2 separate regions of the Homo sapiens genome follow, and region 1 is linked to region 2. The links are contacts of gene promoters, found by promoter capture Hi-C in human tissues and cell types (Jung and others, 2019). All regions are on one chromosome and are shown on one strand. The core of a region is centred on a gene start or on the middle of the fragment in contact, and the rest is flanking DNA. Distances in the headings are between cores, read along the strand shown. Region 1 overlaps CCAR2 (cell cycle and apoptosis regulator 2). Region 2 holds the start of REEP4 (receptor accessory protein 4).

What was found. The method cuts DNA at HindIII sites, captures the fragments that hold promoters and counts their contacts. A contact is called where the count stands out against the background at its distance.
Region 1: a fragment that was not itself captured here is called in contact with the fragment with the promoter of REEP4 in region 2 in 1 of the 25 tissues and cell types used here (dorsolateral prefrontal cortex).

The regions. Positions count from the first base shown.
Region 1 is chr8:22,605,314-22,611,701 of GRCh38, reverse strand. It overlaps CCAR2 (cell cycle and apoptosis regulator 2), which reads right to left. Exons shown (of 21, transcript NM_001393997.1): 2 at 5,871-5,966; 3 at 5,526-5,617; 4 at 5,004-5,095; 5 at 4,678-4,792; 6 at 4,377-4,506; 7 at 3,637-3,733. The coding sequence starts at 5,928. Among named protein-coding and RNA genes, the nearest start is that of CCAR2, 3.8 kb to the right of the region's middle. The HindIII fragment of the contact is 3,562 bases long and covers 198-3,759 here.
Region 2 is chr8:22,140,050-22,146,154 of GRCh38, reverse strand. REEP4 (receptor accessory protein 4) reads left to right here and starts at 4,248. Exons shown (of 8, transcript NM_025232.4): 1 at 4,248-4,704; 2 at 5,458-5,530; 3 at 5,907-5,983; 4 at 6,072-6,105. The coding sequence starts at 4,673. RefSeq lists silencers at 4,205-4,334, 4,345-4,494 and enhancers at 5,259-5,866, 5,867-6,105. The HindIII fragment of the contact is 4,498 bases long and covers 1,864-6,105 here.

The sequences.
Region 1 (6,388 bases), core at 729-3,228, 470 kb before region 2:
GGATTATGCTGCAATATGGAAAACTGTTTATAAATACACAAAAATAATTTGAACTGTAAGATTAAAATTGCAAAAAGTATGCACATGTATAGATAAAAACTAGAACACAGGAGAAAAGAGTGGCAAGAGATTTTCCTTTTCAAAATTATTTTCTAAAATTCTTTAATACCTACCTGTTAACAACAGTTACCTTTAAAGAGAAAGAAGGTAGAAACCACACATATTTTTACATATATATATACACACACACATATGTATACACACACACATATATACACACATATATACACACACATACACACACACACACACATATATATACTTTTTTTTTTTTTTTTTTTGAGACAGAGTCTTGCTCTGTTGCCCAGGCAGGAATGCAGTGGCGTGATCTCAGCTCACTGCAACTTCTGCCTCCCGGGTTCAAGCAATTCTCCTGCCTCAGCCTCCCGAGTAGCTGGGATTACAGGTACCCACCGCCATGCCTGGCTAATTTTTGTATTTTTAGTAGAGTCAGGGTTTCACCATCTTGGCCAGGCTGGTTTTGAACTCCTGACTTCAAGTAATCCGCCCGCCTCAGCCTCCCAAAGTGCTAGGATTACAGGCATGAGCCACCGCGCCTGGCCTACGTATTTATATTATTTTAATTTTATGTATTTATATTATTTTAATTTTATATAATAGCATGTACTGCTTTACACATTTTTATAATAAGTCACCACAGTATTACACTATAACTACGTTATAAGTGCAATAGATATGGGTACAATAAATAAAAATAGTTGAGGAGAAAAAACCTTTAGACCATTCATTATAACGTGCCAGACTGATAAGGGGAAAACCCCCCATGTCACATGAGAGAAATAAAACCCACTGCCATTTCTCTGTGCCTGGGTAACTGAGTTGATTGTATTCACCAGAAGGTTCTTGTTCTGCCTTTTAGACCTGCCTGGGTCATTTCCCTGTTCACACCCCAGTGACTAAGCTGAAGAGATTTATCATGATGCCTGCTCTTTTCTGTTGGCCTTGGTCACTTCCATGTGCATGAGCATCTCCATCCAAAAGTGGCCTTCTTCTCTAGCCCCGATGGGATGTCAGTAGCCCATGTTTCTAATAGAAGACCCATGCCAAAGCCACTTTGACAACTCTCCAGCTCGCAGGAATGCTGTCGGCCTCTAGCTAAACTGTTATGGTCCACTCAACGCTGTACACTGTGTGGCCACTTTCCTCCGCTTCCTGTACATTGTCAGGAGGTTGTAAGGCAGCACCAGGGGCTGACCTCTCAGGACTTGCAGCAGCAGAGCCCAGCTGGGTACACCTGTCTAAAAACCACAGCACAGCAGTAGCAGCTCAATGGAGACATTGTTCTCTGCATCCCAAAGCCAGGAATTCAAAATAAAGCTTGGCTTCCATGCAAAACATTAATGTGGCTGAGTCCTTCATAAATTAAAAGCTGAGAAACTAAATAAATAAATAAAAGTTGCTGCCCCAGAATGACCTACTTCCTACTACCCCTGGCCCCACTCTGCACATTCTCTCTACTGACGAATGGTAATATAATATCTCCCTCCCAATGGTAGTATAGGTTGAGTATCCCTTATCTGAAATGCTTGGGACCAGAAGCATCCTGGGTTTGGAATTTTTTTCAGATTTTGCAATGTTTGCATTATACCTACTGGCTGAGCATCCCAAATCCAAAAATCCAAATCTGAAATGCTCAATAAACATTTCCTTTTGAGTGCCATGTCAGCACTCAAAAAGTTCTCGATTTGAGAGTACTTTGGGTTTAAGGATTTAGGATGCTCAACCTGTACGTCCTTTCTGTAGAAGCTGTGACACTGAAGCATAATGGCCAAAGTAATACAACAGACCTTGCATGGGCCTCAGCACGTCCAGGACAATCAAATGCAACTGATAGAGAAAGCCTGAAATTAACCGTAAAGCAGAAAGTCCACGGCAGTCACAGAGTTTCACCCAGGCTACACCGTCTCAGAAGGCACCTGCTGTGATTTTGTAATGAAGCCTTTAATAAACTCACACACTGTGAAAGGGAGAAGGTCCCTAGAAACTGAGGACCAGGAAGATGCACAGGACAAGAGGAGTGGGTAAACACAAAATATATACCAGCGACTGGATATATTTATATACTTATGAATATGGTGTCTACAATGGAGAATGGGACACAGGGTTTCAAGCAGTGGAAACCCCATGGCAAACAATCCCAAAGCTTCCCCCTACTTAGAATTCACAATGGGCCGGGCGTGGTGGCCCACACCTGTAATCCCAGCGCTTTGGGAGGCTGAGGTGGGAAGATGACTTGAGCCCAGGAGTTCGAGACCAGCCTGGGCAACATGGTAAAACCCTTTCTCTGACCCCCACAAAAATAAATAAATATTTACTTATTTTTTGTAGAGATAGGCTCCCAAAGCACTGGGATTTATAGGCATAAGCCATCGCACCCAGCCTTACAAAAAACGTTTTAAAAAATTACTCCAGCATGGTGGTGCACACCTGCAGTCCCAGCTACTGCGGAGGCCGAGGCAGGAGGATGGCTTGTGCCAGAGAGATCAAGGCTGCAATGAGCCGTGATCACACCACCACACTCCAGCCTGGGTGACGGAGCAAGCCCTTGTCTCAAAAAAAAAAAAAAAAGAAAAAAAAAGGGTTAAGGGTTACATAACATTTCCCATTTGTCAAAACTGTCAAGATTTGTGCATTTCAATCTACATAAGTTCCACGTTAAAATTTTTTACCTTAACAAAATCAAGTGGGAGCAGTGAATAGATGGAGGTAGAGATGAAAAAGAATGGTAGCTGATACTTGAAGAAGCTGGGTAATGGGTATAATAAGGTTCCTCACACCTTTCTGTTTACCTTGCATATAGTGAAATTCTCCATTATAACAAGTTTAAAATGAAGACAGAACTAGAACGAGTCTTAAACAAATCATTCTGGAGCTTAACTTTTAGAGGTATAAGCAAAACACTCAGGGAGAGTGAGACTGAGGAAGGAACATGTGAACTGGAGAGAAGACGGGACAGCATGCTCCTAGTGGTCCCCAATGCTACAGATGACACAGCATCACCAGGATACCCTAAAGGCCCAAATCAGCCATGCTTGCTCCACACATGGCTGAGAAAGCTACCTGTGTGTCCAAGGCACGGGGGCCTGAACTCCCAGGCAGAGTGCAATATACACCTTCTAACAGCATACTGATGAGTATGGTGTCTATAAAGAAACGTTTTAAACAACGAGAACAGATACTGCAGTGTTCTAGTTGTTTTGACATGTTACTATTGAGAGTTTCCATTCCTATCATCTCAACTTAGGGACTAGAAACAGAAGAGTATTTAAGAAGTATCTCAACATGACATTTTGAAAGATGAACTGTATCAACTCCCTGCTTGCTTAACCACTGTATAAAATTCCAATATTTTTATACACATTTCAGTTGTGTCTACATACTTCACAGAAAAGGGACTAGGATCTAGCTGCAGGCAAAGAATGTTAGTGGTAAGCATAGCCACCTTCCAAGCAGTTGACCTGGGTTCACTTCCTGGCCAACACAAAAAAATAATAATAAAATAAAGAGAATGTTAGTGTCAACAAGTGGCCAAAAAAAGGGACATCATCCTCTTACCTTCGGCCCTGATCCAACCGTCCATGAGGGCCCCGGGCAGGAAATCTGTTCAGGTGGCTCAGGTGAAGTGTGTGGGATGTTTGGAAGAGACTCAGAGCTGCAGAAAGGAAATGACTGGTGACTCAAAAACCCTAAAAACCGGCCGGGTGCAATAGCTCACACCTGTAATCCCAGCACTTTGAGAGGACAGTGCAGATGGATCACTTGAGGTCAGGAGTTCAAGACTAGCCTGGCGAACATGGTGAAACCCCGTCTCCACTAAAAATACAAAAAATCAGCCGGGCATGGTGGTGGGTGCCTGTAGTCCCAGCTACTCAGGAGGCTGAGGCAGGAGAATGGTGTGAACCCAGGAGGCGGAGCTTGCAGTGAGCCGAGATCGCGCCACTGTACTCTAGCCTGGGTGACAGAGCAAGACTTTCTCTCAAAAAAAATTAGCCGGTCATGGTGGCGGGCGCCTGTAATCCCAGCTACGGGGGAAGCTGAGGCAGGAGAATTGCTTGAACCCAGGAGGCAGAGGTTGCAATGAGCCGAGATCGTGTCATTGCACTCCAGCCTGGGCAACAGAGCGAGACTCCATCAAAAAAAAAAAAAAAAAAAACCCTAAACACCTATCCAGATTGCCCACCTTTCTTCCAGTACATAGAAGTACCCACCTCTATGCTAAGAGCAGCAACCTGAAAGTCCATTGATCTAAACTACCCCATAATGCCACACCCAACAACAGTGCCACTCGTACTCACGCTTCTGAGGAAAGAGTGGGGGAATCCGGTGAGGCTGGAAGATCAACTGAGGCTGAGCTCCCAGGATCCCTTGCTTCTGGCCCAGGGCTGCTACATGCAGAAGAGGAGGTGCTGGGGACTTCAGTAGGGGCTGCAGAACAGGAGCCAGGAAATTCAGGGGACCCCATGGTTGAGGCACTCACTACCTTGGAAAGATGCAGTCCCACCCCCCTGACAAAAGTCAGGGTTTTGCCCAGCTGTCAGGGCACAGGGGCTTCCATCCCTTCCCTTTCCAATGCACATGCTAAGGAGATATGAATACCTGGTTGGAGAGCGTTTGCACCTTGACAGCATTCCAGGGCACTGCCTGGCCTGGGTTGTATGCAGCCTTCACCAGCACCTTCTCACCCAGCTGGGGCAGACGGCCCTTCACCACACTGTCAGCACACAAGCCAGAAGGCCCCATCAGAAGAGGGACCCTGGCCAGGCCACCCTGACTGCCCCTATGAGGCCTTTCCCATCAAGATTTCCCACACCTTGCACAAAAACAGCAAAGCAATGGCTTTGAGGCGGGTGGGGGCAATACCAGCATGGTGACAGAACTGAATCCAATAAGCATTTCCGTTAGGGGACCAACCTCAAGCCTACCTTAGCTGAAAAAAGACCTCTTCATCCACAACCCCAAAGTAGTCATGCAAGCTGGTAACAATACCAGTGAAGACCCGCTGTTTCTCCCCACCCTGTAAGAGAAGGAGACAGCTGAAAAGTAAAAGGGAGGAAACTGGACAAAATCACACTCTGCCATGAAGGTCTCATCTCAACCCACGCCCCAGCTCAGCGTACTGCATCAAGAGTTCGCACAGAGTGAAGTACAGGTGTGGTGGGCATACTCCATCATTAGGGGTTGGGGCATGTTTGAGCTGGTTCTTGACCCACAAGCTTCTTCTGGGATTTCCAGTTCATTAATTCCAAGACGTAAGCTAAAGATTTCCCTGGAGCGAGAAATGAAGATGCCCCAGTCTGAAGGCTATCTGGGCAACCCCATACTAGCCCACTACCAGGAGAGGGATCAGGAATGATAAACACTATTATGTAAGAGAAAAAGAGCACCAGGCCTCCATGCATTCAGTCCCAAGGGCTGAAACTTACTACAAGGGATGCCGAACCTACCTGAAGGTGCCTGGCATTCTGGGACAGTTCTGTGGCCACAGGAGGAGTGAGCAAACCAGGAGGAGGGCCCAGAAGAGATGTTGAAGCTGTGCCTATGGGGAAAGAGAAGCAATCTCCAGGAACCGCCCCTACCACCTTAAGCACGAGTCAACCAAAGGATGTGGTAAATCCAAAGGCTACAGCTCCAGCCAGCTCCTCCACAGAGCTTCACTGGCAATCACTGTGGGCATCTCCTGCTTTCCAGAGGAACATCAGCAGCAAATTGCTCTCCACCAGGGAAACCCCAAACTAACTCCAGAGCACATACTTCCCAGGATGAGGCCAGGTAGGGAGAACAGTGATCACCTGAGAAGTTGCGTCCCCCTGGAAGCGGGTTGATCCGCTGGCGCTTAAACTGGGACATTGGGAACGCTGTCCTCTTTCAGAGTCGTGGGGAAAAGGCTTCAATCCAAAAAGAAAGAAATTAACAGCTTATAAGGGAAATTTCCATCTATACCCGGAAAAGTGGAGAATCTTAAGTAAGGATATTTCGGAAAACAGGGAGGTGGGTAATAAGAATGAATGAAAGCAATGGATGGAGAGAATATAGAGAAGAAAGAAATGAAACAAGAAATTACATTGTTCCAGTTTGCCCTGACAATAACCTAGTGGTGCATGATACTGTCATGCTGTTTTACAGACAAGGAAACTGATGCTCAGAGAGATCAAGAGACTTGCCCGGGGCCACATAACCAGGTAGTGACAAAACTGCTACTCACACCCAGGCCTCCCAACAACTTAGCGCTCCTCTCACTATGCCACGCCACCCCCAGAGTAGCTGGCGGGGTGAGGGGCTCGAGAGAGCCCCGATGACATTCCTTCGT
Region 2 (6,105 bases), core at 2,999-5,498:
GCGATCTCGGCTCACCACAACCTCTGCCTCCCAGGTTCAAGCAATTCTCCTGCCTCAGCCTCCTGAGTAGCTGGGATTACAGTCATGCACCACCACACCTGGCTAATTTTGTATTTTTAATAGAGACGGGGTTTCTCCATGTTGGTCAGGCTGATCTTGAACTCCCGACCTCAGGTGATCTGCTGGCCTCAGCCTTCCAAAGTGCTGGGATTATAGGCGTGAGCCACTGAGCCTGGCTTTTTTTTTTTTTTTTTTTAAAGATGGAGTTTCTCTCTTGTAGCCCAGGCTGGAGTGAGGTGGCCCTGTCTTGGCTCACTACAATCTCCGCCTCCCAGGTTCAAGTGATTATCCTGCCTCAGCCTCTTGAGTAGCTGGGACTACAGGTGCCCACCACCACGCCTGGTTAATTTTTGTATTTTTAGGAGAGACGGGGTTTCACCATGTTGGCCAGGCTAGTCTCAAAGTCCCAACCTCAGGTGATCCGCCTGTCTCGGCCTCCCAAAGTGCTGGGATTACAGACGTGAGCCACCACGCTCAGCCATCGGTCTGATCTTTCTAACACACACTTTCCTCCTGTCCTCCCCTGCTCAGGAACCTGCCTTGGCTTCCTGCTCAACAAACCCATGAGCCTCTGCCCACCATGAAGGTTCCTGTGACCTGGTCCCACCGTACACACCCAAGCCCTGTGGGCAGTCAGGGTCCCTCAACATCTCTGTGAGTGGAGTCGAGAGAGTCTAAGACAGTCAGATGGGGGCCGGGTGGGGGACAGTGCTCAGGGTGTCAGTGCAAGTAATGGGGTCTCGGGGACAGCACACTGAATGGCAAAACAGGTGTTGTCAAGCTGTGGGGACCCCTTTTCTCCTCTTCCCCCATGGGCTTGAGTAAATGAAATCCTTTTGTGGCCTTGTGTGGGTTGGTGACAGTGTAAGGGACAGGGGATGGAAACGGGGGAAATGATAGATCCTTGGGCAGTGGTGCTTGCTGTGTGACCCTGGGCAGGTCAAATCCCTTCTCTGAGTCTCCAGGTTTTCATTTGTCCTCCAGAGCCCCTCTCAGCTCTCGCATATCACAAAAACCCTTCGTTTCTCTCTCTTCAGCGAGCACCTGTGAGCAGCTGTGCACAGAGGAGTGGGGTCTGGAGCCTGGATAACATGGGTGTGAATTCTGGCTCAGTCCCTTTCCATGGTGTGAGATTTCAAGCAAGTCAGCTGATTTCCCTGAGCTTCAATTTCTCCTTCTGTGAAGCAGATTTAAAAACCCCACTTCATGGGTTCCTGATTCTGCCAGCCGGGTGAAACCAGCTAGTAACATTCAGCCACGTTACTTAGCCTATTTGTGCCTCGGTTTTTCTTATTTATAAAATGAGTATAATCGTGATACCTACCTGACAGGGTTTGTTGTTTGTTTTTTCCAGCTTAGGCTGGAGTGCAGTAGTGCGATCTTGAGTCACTGCAACCTCAGCCTCCTAGGTTCAATTAATTCTCCTGCCTCAGCCTTCCAAGTAGCTGGGACTACAGGAGCACGCCCCCACCCCTGACTAATTTTCATATTTTTAGTAGAGATGGGTTTCACCATGTTCACCAGACTGGTCTCGAACTCCTGACCTCAATGATCTGCCGTCCTCGGCCTCCCAAAGTGTTGGGATTACTACAGGCATGAGCCACCGCATCCTACCCTGACAGGATTATTTCTCATGAGAGTGAAATGCATTAGTATATGTAAGTCCATTTGTATAGTGTGTCCAGCACATGATTATGATTTGCCTTGGTCTATGGGAATATATGAAAACAGAAGTGGCTCAGAGAGGGGTGTTTTGTGCAAGAGGAGGAGGTGGATCTTTGGAGAGAACTGTCTGTGGGTGATGGTTCCTCACCCATCCTCAGTCTTGGAGCCCCTGTGCCCCATATCTTACCTGCAGCCTCTGACCTGGCCTCCTCACCCCCAGCAATAGGTGACTTACCTGCTTTTCACCTCCTCAAATATGCTCTTAGCTTAGCAGGCACCTCCATCATTCTGGGGAGGCCTGTCCTTCTTTTCCAAATGGGAAACGGGCCCTTATCCTGTGCTTGGGAGAGGTTGCCAGGGAAAGTGGGTTGAGTCTCCCAGACACGCTGGCACTCTGCTGCCCAGTAGAAAGATAAATATCACTTTGACAGCTGCTGCCCCCAGGGGGGAGCTCTTCTGAGGGGTGGGAGGCACTTTCCTCCCTTGGCCCGAGTGCCTGGCTTTCTGTGTGTGCCTGCTGGGTCACTTGCCCTGGGGCTTGTCCACGTCCAGAGTGCTGCTTAGCAACCCAGTGGAATTGGGTGACTGTGTCAACAGCTCAGGACCAAAGGCTGCAAGAGGCAAGGTCTACTCACTCTGCCAAGACCAGGGATGGTGACACTCCTCAGCTGCCAGCCTCTTGCCCTCCGTGCTGAGCCTTGCTGTCAGCGCAGACCTCTGACATCTCTTCTCTGAGATTTCCCAAGCACAGGCATTGGGACCAGGAGTCTCCATACGGGAGACCATCCCAGCTGAATGAGCTTTGGGCGGGCCCAGGTAATGTTTCCCAGCAAATGGGGGTAGACAGAGGCCTGTGATGCTGAGGTCAGGTGCGTGGCCCCAGAAGGCAGCCAGCAGGGAAGGGACAGTTCTGCAGCACGCACCAAAGGACCCGAGGCTCACGTGTGCAGTGACCTCCTGAGTCATGGATGTCCCTTTCAGCTGCTCCCCTATTCAGTCACAGCTTTCCTCCTTCAGGGAGACCCAGGACACTTTTCACCTAGAGAACCATGTCTGTGCCTAAAGATGGACAGTGGCTGGGGCCTTCCTTAGGAGTTCCTCTAGCCCTTGGCCTTTTTGGTTACTCCAATGTGTGTGTGTAAGGGGGGACAGGTAAATGTGAGGGTTGGTTAAGAGAGGAGAGGGAGACATGGGGCCTCGGGGAAGTTTCTCCTGTGGGCTGGTTTCACTGCTGGCTCTCACACCCAGCAATACCAATAAAACTGATGACAGTAATTAAGACCATATAATCACCGTGTGTTTATTTATCCCCCAGAAGCCTCCTTTCCCTGGCCCCATGATTACCTATTCCATCCTTATGATAGCTGGTGGGGGTTAACTGTGGCTCCAATAAAAAGCAGTAACTGCCTGTGTTTCCACCCCACATGCCCGGACAGCTTTGCTCCCACCCTCTGCAAGGTGGGGGGACACTATTTTCAGAGGGAACAACAGAGGCAGTAAGCTGAAGATGTCAAAAAGAATGAAACCTCACAGGGCAAGTAGTAGAAGCAGCAACGTTTGCCTTCTTTTTTAGAGCCTTCCCCCTTCTTCCTGGCATCTGCCTCCCTCCCAGAGGAACTTATCCGGTTCCATGGCCCTCTGCAGGGCCACTCAGCCTGCAGCTGCTGATCTCTCAGAAGACTGATCAAGCCAAGCATGTAGCCACCAGCCAGCAATAAATACCACTGGGTGATACCAGGAAAGTTACTTTTCACCACTGAGCATCCTATTTCCTACATGGTTAAAAGAAGTTTGCAAAGACTAAGACCTTGCGTGCAAACGTGCATTACAAAATGGCAATGGTTGATACTACTATTAAGGGCCCAGGGTTATTTGTGTACTTGGCTCAGAGGAATAGGTGGAATTTCAAACTTCTGCTGAAGGAGTGTGGGAGCTGAGAGCTCTACCCAGAATGCCTCAAATCATCGCGGTCAGCCTGCCCCGGAGTCAGGGATCTGGAAAGGCATCCCAGAGAGAAGGGAACCCCTGAAACCTGGTGGGGCAAAAAGTCCCTCAGGTTCCCTCTCCCCCCACACCTCCCCCCTTTCCCTCCTGGACCCACTGGTGTGAGACCCGGACTTGCTGGCGCTCAGCCAAGCTTCCTTCCAGCTCCTGACTGAGCCTGCAGAGGAGATCCTTCCCTCTACCCCACCAACCGCATCTCATGCCTTTACCCGGTTCACAGAGGGGAAAATGAGGCGAGAGGGAAAGACACCGGGAAAAGCCAGTGAAGGGTCGCTTAAACTCTGGAGTCCAGATTTTCTTTGTGTGCCGACCCCCGCACTCCCCCTGCTTTTTTGTTACAGCTTCCCACACGCTAATCTTTCCGATTGGGAAGGTGGCTCCACTGTGGGCCCCACGCGCGAGTCCCGCGGCACATCGCCCCTTTAAGGGGCCGGCCTCTCGCCTCCCTGACCTCGCCCCGCCCCCTCCGGGGCTACACTGCGCCTGCGTGGCAAGCCGGAGCCCTGGGGTTGGGCAGCACTCGGTTCCGTGCAACTTTCAAGTGAGTTGCGAACTCCGCCCTGTAGGCCGGTGCTGGTGGCCCGGCGCGCTGGAACCGCGGCGACCCGCTCCAGCGCGGGACCAGCAGCAAGGGCCGAGCGCCAGGTTCTCCGCGGCAGAAAGGGCGGGTGGGAGCTGTAACTGCCCCGGCCGCGGGGCGCGCCCGCTCCCAAGTCGGCTTCCTCCCCGCCGGGGCCGCTTTGCCTCGGGTCTCCCCATTCTCCAGGTCCCCTGAACTGCACAGTCGGAGGCCGTGGGCGGCGGGCTCTGCCTCCGCCGAGGGACAGCCGGATCGCCCCTCTGCTTCCCGCAACTGCCCTGATCACCCCCCGTCCCAGCCCTTGAGTGAACGTCCTTCTGAGCGGCTTCCTGGGGTCCTCCCCACGTCCCAAAGGCCGGCAAGATGGTGTCCTGGATGATCTGTCGCCTGGTGGTGTGAGTATGGCCGCCCTCAGACCTCCTCTACCCCGGGGTGCCGTCCCGCCCCTGTGGTGGAAGCTGTGGACGTCTAGTGGGAGGAGGAACTTTCTGAGCTCCACCCTCCAGCACTCCATGCAAGGGTTAACGGACCTGTGGGCTTGCACGCGGTGTCTGGGGCACCGCAGGCTACCCGCCCCACCAAGCCTCGTTGGCTGAGAACGACCCCTGCCGCACGCCACACACACTGCAAACAGATGCGTGGAGCCGAGGGCCACAGGCCTACCTTGCTGCCCCTTGGCAAACACAAGGTGATATGGCACGTTGTGGGCGGAGAATCCAGGTGCCTGCTTGCCATCTGAGCAGTCACATGACTCACCATCCTATTCCTCACCTTTGAGTATGCCAACATCTGGCTCACATAGCCCTATCTGCAACCCAGCAGTGTCAGGTCTGGTGACCCTGGGCCTGATTGCATGCCCATGGGAGGGGACAGTCTGGTGTTCTCACCCACTTCGTGGAGTGGCTGTCCTCTCACTCCATCATGCACCCATGGGCCACCGGTGCAGGCCTGGGCAGGCTTGGGATGTTTGTAAACAGCAGGGTGGGGAGGTGGCCTCCAGGGCTCTGACTCAGGCACGGGTTGTACAAGCCAAGCGAGAAAAACAGGGCGGGTACTGCCACCTTGCACCCCAGTGGGGGGAAATGGCCACTTGGCAAGGTGGGAGTGGGGCATGGTGCCCCTCACACTCCCCATGGCTGCTCTTCCAGGCTGGTGTTTGGGATGCTGTGTCCAGCTTATGCTTCCTATAAGGCTGTGAAGACCAAGAACATTCGTGAATATGTGAGCGTGGGGGTTTGGGTGTGTTTAATAGGACTTGGTGAGGTGGGGAGGGTCTCAGTTGGCCTCTCCCTCCTCCAGGGGCAAGGCTGTGTGGCACATCCTGAGTGGAGTGGGGAGGGAGAGAGAATGGGCCCTGTTCAAGAGGGTGTAGATAGAGGGCAGGCCATCGGGGTGCCTGTGGAAGATCTGGTGGGTGAAGCTTGTTGGAGGCGGGCATAGGAATGAGCAGCAGTTTCTCAGAGCTCCTGTCCAGCCATGTGTGGGGGAAAGCAGCTATGCAGCCGGACAGGCTCCCTGGAATCTCTGGGCTGGGCTGGCCTGGGTTGGGAGTTGGTGCTGCAGGCCCCATGCTGACCTCTGGGCGCTCACCCCACAGGTGCGGTGGATGATGTACTGGATTGTTTTTGCACTCTTCATGGCAGCAGAGATCGTTACAGACATTTTTATCTCCTGGTATGGACGCAGGGTCCGCAAGCCATGGGTCAGGGGTGGCCCCCCCAGCCCTGCTCCTTGGCTCACCCTGCCCCTTGTGCTGTGACAGGTTCCCTTTCTACTATGAGATCAAGATGGCCTTC